Linked DNA regions of Homo sapiens: regions 1 and 2 are each linked to region 3. Evidence: promoter capture Hi-C in human tissues and cell types (Jung and others, 2019). All regions are on one chromosome and are shown on one strand. Each heading gives the region's core, a stretch centred on a gene start or on the middle of the fragment in contact. The rest is flanking DNA. Distances are from core to core; before and after follow the strand shown.

Region 1 (2,700 bases), core at 47-2,546, 470 kb before region 3:
GAACTTTACAAAGATTCTTTGCTTGGCCAAACTTTAGTCAGGCTTCTGAGCTTCTTCCTAGGCCCATCTGTGTACTTCCTTGTAAAAATCCAGGTGTAGCAAAGAACTTGCTATGTCAGTTTAGCAATAACCCTTCATCCTTGACCTCTGATCATCCTTGATCATTCTCCACCATCTTCTGGATGATGTCTGATCAGCCTGGCTGGTCTTCAGCAAGAATCCTGTTAGATTGGTTTAGCCAGAATCCCTCCTACCCCTGATGCTTCCTCTCAGTAATTTTCCATCCTCTGACCCCCACCTTGCTCCCTGGCTATAAATTCCCACTTGCCCATGGTGTTTTCAGAGTTGAGCCCAGTCTCTCTCCCACACTGCAAGATCCCATTGCAGTGGTCCCTGTACCTACCATGATGGTCCTGAATAAAGTCTATACCATATTTTGACAAGTATCGTTTAATATATATTTTTAACAGGCTTCAGAAGATGTGGCTGCCTTTCCCCCCAACTCTCATGTTCTACTCAATCTGTGCAGAGTCCTTTTTTCACTGCCACCCTTCTAAGACATACCAGCTTGCCTTTCAGGATAAAGGTTCTCAGATCCATTTCCTTCTTGTGTGGAGTTGTTGCACTTTGACCTGATGTGCCATGTCTAGAGTGGACAAGTGACTCCTGAATATCTTCTTCAGAAATATTATTTCTCTGAGCTTCAAGTCAGTGACTAGTAAAATAAAATGACAAAAATAGAAATATTATTTCTCACATCCACTACAATTTTGTCAGCCAAAATGACTAATAATATCAATTATTGGTGAAGATGTGGAGCACCCGGCATGCTCTGACATTGCTGTTGGAGTATAAAATAGACAACTGTGGAAAATTATTTCCAATGAAATTAAATATATACCTATTCTATAACATGGAAATTTCAGATTATATTCTACTTCTAGATAGATATCGAGAAGAAATGAGTACATATGTCCACAAAAAGAACATTCACAGCAACCTTATTCATAAAAGCAAAAACCTGGAAACATACAAATATCCATCAACTGGACAATGGATAAACAACTGTGGTCTATTTATACAATGCAGTCTCAATAGTAACAAAAGGACAAACTACTGGTGCATGAAACAATGTAGATTATTCTCAAAAACCTTACGCAGAAGAAGTCAGACACAAGAGTTCATATTGTATGGTGCCATTGACACGAAGTTAAAGAACAAGCACAATTAATCTGTGGGCACAGAAATCACGATATTGTTTAACTTTTGTAGGGGAATGTTGACTTTATAGGGTTACGAGGAGAACTTCATAGAATGAGATCGAAGTTTTTATATATTGGCCGGGTACAGTGGCTCATGCCTGTAATCTCAGCATTTTGGGAGGCTGAGGCGGGCAGATCACTTGAGGTCAGGAGTTTGAGACCAGTCTGGCCAACATGGCAAAACTTCATCTCTACTAAAAATACAAAAATTAGCCTGGCCTATGATGCATGCCTGTAATCCCAGCTATTCGGGAAGCTGAGGCATGAGAACTGCTTGAACTCGGGAGGCAGAGGTTGTAGTGAGCCGAGATCGTGCCACTGTACTCCAGCCTAGGTGACAGTGAGACTCTCTCTCTCTCTCTCTCTCTCAAAAAAAAAAAAAGTTTTTATATCTTGATTTAGTGGTGATCACATGTTGGTGTATAGAAATTGCAAAATTGTTAAGCAATAAGATTTGTACATTTTGTACTTCATGTAAATTATGGCTCAGTAAGGTACTGTTAAAATCTCCTTTCCTTTCCTTCAACTCTTCTACCAATTAGAATTCCATTTAGGTTTACTAGCTCCTCTTTTTAGATCATACTGATAGGGTTAGGTCAGCCTGGAGTAGTTTGAGGAAGCAGGCGGGAGGTAGGAAATTTCCAAAGGCAGCCGCCTCCACTTTGTAACTTCAGTCAGGAGTCAAGTGGTGGCAACTGCTTCAAATGTCACAAAAGAACATCTCCACCTACTCCTTCTGTACCCGGATGGATGTGGCTAGAGAAGAAACACAGCTGTGCTAATTTAGTCTCATATTACATTTTTCCCCAGAAGTCTCAAGTGGGCCCTCTGCAAATCCTTGCAATTGTATTATATTTCATGAGTAAATTTACTTTCCTACTTCCAAAAATTATTTCATGCCCTAACTCTCTCTCTTCAAATCAACAGCACCCTCTCAGCTCTGACTTTGTTTCTTATTTCATTGAGAAAATAGAAGCAATCAGAGGAGAACTGCCTCATTCTTCCATCACCAAGTAGATCAGACTACCTGTATTTGTATTCACACAACCTGACTTCACTCCCATTTCAATGCATCAGTGATTATCAACACGAGCTATATGTAGAATTTTTAAAATGCTGATGCCAAAATCCCACTTCTAGAGATTCTGAATTAATTAATCTACTGTGGGACATCTATTTTTTTCTTTCAAAAAAAATCTCAAGGGATTTTAATATACTGGTGGCATTTAGAAACAGGAATTTAAAATTCCTGTTTGAGTCCCTACCTAAGGGCAAGTCCTCTACTTATAAAGTGGATCCTACACTCTCTCTCACCTTCTCAAAACTTCATTCCTTCAACGAGCTCCCCTCCTTCCTACATGATCAATATTTCTCTCCTGGCTAGATAAGTCCCATCAGCATACAAATATACTCTATTGTCTTAATAATCCTTCTTTCT
Region 2 (2,700 bases), core at 52-2,551, 430 kb before region 3:
ATAGTTTCCCTGAGTTTGCTTAAAAGGTTTTTCATTTCTCTCATGTCTCTGTAAAATTGATAAAAAGACAGAATAATCAGCTGTAAATTTTCAAAATGAAATCTCAAACAATCTGTTATATGAGACAACTGAAAGATGAGGGTCTGTGTCTAATTGCACTAGCTCTAGTTTCCAGTAGGCAAATATTGAATTTATTTTGCTTTTACAAGAAAAAAAATCTGAGATGGGTTGGCTCAGGAAAAAGTGAGAGCCATTCTGCCAAACATTTCTACAGGGCATTCTCCTGCAGGAGCCCTCATCTCTGCCTCCAGTCGAACCTGGCTGAGATCAGAGAAGAGCCATTGGTCACGAGGACAGTGCTTTAGATTTGCAAAGAGAGGCCAAGGAAGTACAACTGGAGCAACAGGGCTACCCAGGGCAAACTTGAGGCTGGGTGATGGTGCTATCAAGGCTTTATGGTCAGAGGACTATAGTGGCTATGTACATTCACTTGCTGTTATTTGCTCGTTTGTTAAAATTTGTGTAAATTTAAGGAGTACAAGTGTAGTTTTGTTACTTTGACATATTGCATAGTGGTGAAGTCTGTGCTTTTAGGGCATCCATCACCCCAATAATGTACGTTTTACCCACTGAGTATTTTCTCACCCCCCACACCTTCCCACCCTTCTGAGTCTCTGATGTCTATCATTCCACACCCCATGTCCATGTGTACCCACCATTTAGCTCCCACTTACAAGTGAGAACATGTGCTATTTTGTTTTCTGAGTTGTTTCATTGAAGACAATGGCCTCCAATTCCATCTTCTGCTTGGTTTTAATAGTCTCTTGTTACTACGATTGGAATTCAGCATAACTCAGGTATTAAGCGTTCACCAGGACCAACACTTATTACATTGACTTGGAATAATGAAAGAGTAACAAATTCTAAAACTTCCAGAAAAGAGCTCCTTACAATGGATGAAACAGAAAGGGGCGCAGTATGGGAACAAGAGGGAAAACAACCCCACCTGGGTACAGCTGGGCCTTCCTTTAGCATGGACCGTCCTCCCACACTTCCTGACTTCAGCACACAGCATGCAATGCCACTGCATACATCCAATATCTTCCCTCATCTCAGAGCATGCATGGTCATAAAACCCCAGAATTGTAAAGCAGGAAGCCATCTCAGGAGGCTTCTAGTCTAAGGTAGGGGAGAACTCATCTTTTGAAACCCTTGGGACAATTGTCCCTACACACGTCCAGATGGTTGTGCATTGGAGAAAGTGCTCTTGAGACCCCAGGACATAGGGGCAGATTTCATTTAAAATAGCCAGGAACATAATTTGGTACAAAAAGCAGATGCATCCTTTAATTAACTGAGGATAGGCAAGCATTGGCAGGCACCATGGGTTTAGGAAAGTTTTGTGGGGAAGATCATCTTAAAGTTGAAGAAATTCTATCCACTTATTTTTCTTCTGTTATTTGAGGAAAGACAGTCACCATTTAATTTTAGGTATGAAACCTCTCAGTCCATTTCACAAAACACCACAGTTCTGTTGAGCACGGTTTGAGGATCGTTTTCTTAGGGTAATTCTGGAGACCTCATGGGAGCTCCTTTTCAAGTATTGACTGATATGTGAAGAGGAACTCAAGTCTCAGTAATAATTGATTGGAAAAGGAAGGGAAAGCAGCCTTGAGGATCTGCGGAAATATACCTGTAAAAACTTTCCAAATCCACTCTCATGGGTGCGAGGTGTGAGGATGTATCTGTGGGCTGCATGCTGATCAAGTGAGAGAGGAGGGCAGGAGAAAGGAAGTGTGGCCCCACCTCCACAAGTGCAAGGCACAGTCTGTTTTCATGTAAGATCTCAAGGACAGATGGAATGGGTGAGAAAGGGCTAGGAATGCAACATGGGGGATTGAGGCACTGTCTCCTCTAATAAAGCACCAATTCTCAACCTTGGCTGCTGCACAGGAGAATCACCTTAAGCCCAGGTCTCACCCCAAGAGAGCCTGATTCAGTTGGCTTATAGTGGGGCCCAGCCATCAGTATTTTAAGAATTCCCTCCTGATGACTTAACTGTGCAGTCCAGTTTGAGACCCATGATCTCTCAAGGCAGACAGCCAGGGAGAACGGAGTTAGCCACATCCTGGACCAGGTCCACTGTGCCCACCTCCATCTCCTTTGACCAGAATCTGGGCTTTCAGGCTGAACTGAAACATTGCCAACGTTGTGGGCCTTAACTATCCTACTCTTACTGCCATCCCTTCTTATAAGCTTATAAGGCGTGAATATAGCTGCTGTCTAAGGTCTGCAAAGTAAAATGGTTTCACTGATGTTTATGCCCTGATATGGCATTTCAGCAGATATTTTTTTCCCTGGGAACAGAGCTAAGAATTTTCTACTTTATAAATTAAGATAAATCACTCCCTCATCATTTGTCTATAGTGCCATCAAACGGTGCCAAACAGCTTTATTGTTTGAATTGTTGCATTTCCAAGCTTATACAAAATCCAAGTTTTATTAATAGCACATAATTACCACATGCTCCAATTTTCTATAAACACAGAAATTCGGTAATTAGCTTTAGAATTATATCACAATCTGAAAGTAGAACCACAATGGCTATAAATGCCATTGTGTGTTACATTTCTAAAAATAAAAAAAAATAAAATGTTCATTATGTTGTCAGTGACTTAACCTCATACACACAGAACACTC
Region 3 (2,700 bases), core at 23-2,522:
CTACATTTATACAAGAGACGAAAGTCTGACAGATAAAAGACAACGGAATTTTACTTCTTTCTACGACTCAAATGATACCACTCATTTGAAACTGAAGTGTTTATGATCTTTCAAGTATCACTTTTAGGGGTACTATAACAGGAGTCTGAAAGGAATTGACTCTATTTTTTAAGAAAGGTTTTAACAATTAATGAGTATATAAAAATACAATGAGCATCAGACCGTCCATCTTTGAGAGCTAAATTTTGTTTGAGACTAAGAGACCAACTGGACCAAGGACAACTCTAGTCAGACAAGTTCTAATCACAGATTCCACAAGGATTGACTGCTTAGTTTTGATATAATCACTTTGCCTCTTGGGTGCCTCAGCTGTCTGGTCTATAAAATGGGATAATAGTAACCCGACCGCATAATGCTCCTTTGAAGTTAACTAATGAATGCTCTCACAGATACACTTACAACTGTTAGATGCTACGAAAATAATGAGCACTATCTCGAAAAAAAACAAGGTGGAATATATGTGTTAGTGTTCATAACAGCACTAGTAATTTCCCACCAAAGGACCATCTCCCCACCTCCGCCCGATGGATTTCAGAGCTTATGACCTCTGCCTAGCAGAAAGTCGTACACTCCGGACCCAAGGCTGCAACAAAAGCGACTGCGACGCCGATACTGAAATGGGCTAGACAAAGGAAAGTGGAACCGTGCAGAGGGAATCGGCCGTGGAAGGGGCTGTGTGGTCCCCACAAGCTCCGAAATTAAACAAGACGCAGTTCCCCACCTCAGACCTGGAGAGGGTTCAGTACTGGACCCCTGGCACCCACCCCACCTTCCCCGGCCTCCTCCGCCACACCTACAGCGCCTCGCCTCCAGGACTCAGCTTTTTCGACCCTGTGTAATTCCAACCTCCAGGTGGGCGCGCCCCGAGGCCGCTCCGAGAGCCTCAGGTGCGAAAGTTAAGCCGCGGCCGCGTCACCTGAGGCCCGCCGGGCGAGAGGCGGCCAGGCCAGCGGCAACCCTAGCCCAGCCCCTTGGCACGTCCCCGCCTGGGCCAACGTGGGGGCCCGGGCCACCGCGGCTGGGTAGGGCCCGGCCGAGGCCAGGTCCCTCCGAGAGGCGCCGCCGCCGCGCCCCGCCCGACTCCGACCCGCCGGCCTTTACCTGTATCCACGTCCCGGAGCCTCCGGCTTCGCGCCCCGTCCCGGCGCTCCCGGCCGCCAGCAGCCAGGCTCTGAGGACTCGCTGCGGCTCCGGCGGCGGCGATGCCGGTTCGGCGAGACGGGAAGCGACAGGAGCCAAACCCCGCGGAAAGCGCTCGAGCTGTGCCTGCAGCCCCGACCCCGCGGCCTCGGACGTGGCGCCCCGGCGCTCGCCCGCCACAGCCAGCGGCCCTGCTCGCCCCACGTCTGCGGGTTCCCACCCGAGCCGCGCGTGGGCGGCGCCGGGCTTTGACCCCGCGCAGGCAGACAAGCGCCGCGGGCCAGACGGAACCGTGGGAAAGTTTTTCTCCCTTGTCATCCCCTTACCAGAGCCACAGAAATTATCCCTGTGGTCTCCCTTGTCCTCACTCGGCCTTTTCTGGAGTTAAGAGATCCAAGCCAACTACTGGGTCTGTTCCCTGCTAAAATCTTAGGCCGGCGTCCCATCCACCCATCCCCATGCCTAGGACTTTTAAGCTGGCAACGCTACCTGGGTTTAGTTTTCCCTTCGTATATCACTATCTTCGTTGCTTACCTTCTTGTGCCTAAAGTTCCACCGATGTGCAAGGAGATTAACCACTAAAGTGCACCTGACACTACTCTTGACAAATTGCAGTTGGGAGGTGAGTTGATGACTGGCGGTAAATCAAAAGTGCTTATTTAGGGAGTGAGGGGGCCGCGTGCAGTAAATGTTGACTTGCAGGTGCCTCATAGATGATCAAACGACTATAAATAAGATTCGGAATATAAAAAGCAAGTTTTATTAGTTGGCTTGAGGAGAGGGAAGGGAGCTAGGAGGGAACCTCAAAAAAAATATACAGCTTTGTTTCTCTGCTAGATACAGAAATTTTTATTTGCCTGAAGTGGCTTACTTGGAAACTTGTCCTAAGATTAGGGCTGTATGCAGTGACTTCCCATCTGGAAATACAAGGAAATAAAGAACAAAATGAAAGACATCACGAGAAAACTACAGACCAATATACCTTATGCATAGTAACATAAAAATCCTCAACAAAATACTAGCAAGCCAAACCCAGCAACATTTTAAAAAATTATACAACATGACCAAGTAGGATTTATCTCAGGAATGCAAGTTTGGTGTGACATACAAAATTAATGTAACACACTACTTTAAATAGACTAAATGTAAAAACCACATGATCATCTCAAAAGATGAAGGAAAAGCAATTGACAAAATCTAACACCCTTTCTTGATATAAACACTTCAACTAGGAATAAAAGGAAACTTCTTCAACCTAATAAAGAGCCTCTGAAAAATCCATAATTAACATCATACTTAATCTTGAAAGAATGAACATTTTCACCTAAAATCAGGAATAAGACAAGGATGTCAATTGTTGCTACTTCTATTCAACATTATAGTGGAGGCACTAGCCAGGGCAGTTAGGCAAGGAAAGGTGGAATATCTAACAGCTAGTAGAACAAAGAGAAGAAAGATAATTACCAAAGAAAACGAGGACAACAGTTCTCAGAGCTAAAG

Evidence for each region. Contacts are between HindIII fragments. The study calls those that stand out against the background at their distance.
Region 1: a contact is called between a fragment that was not itself captured here and the fragment with the promoter of RNF180 in region 3, in 1 of the 25 tissues and cell types used here (H1 embryonic stem cells).
Region 2: a fragment that was not itself captured here is called in contact with the fragment with the promoter of RNF180 in region 3 in 2 of the 25 tissues and cell types used here (dorsolateral prefrontal cortex and mesenchymal stem cells).

What each region holds. Positions count from the first base shown.
Region 1 is chr5:64,631,730-64,634,429 of GRCh38, reverse strand. No RefSeq gene overlaps it. Among named protein-coding and RNA genes, the nearest start is that of SHISAL2B, 57 kb to the left of the region's middle. The HindIII fragment of the contact is 4,791 bases long and covers 1-2,700 here.
Region 2 is chr5:64,595,713-64,598,412 of GRCh38, reverse strand. RGS7BP (regulator of G protein signaling 7 binding protein) reads right to left here. Exons shown (of 6, transcript NM_001029875.3): 5 at 1-48. Among named protein-coding and RNA genes, the nearest start is that of RGS7BP, 91 kb to the right of the region's middle. The HindIII fragment of the contact is 5,660 bases long and covers 1-2,700 here.
Region 3 is chr5:64,164,415-64,167,114 of GRCh38, reverse strand. RNF180 (ring finger protein 180) reads right to left here and starts at 1,272. Exons shown (of 8, transcript NM_001113561.2): 1 at 1,162-1,272. The HindIII fragment of the contact is 11,374 bases long and covers 1-2,700 here.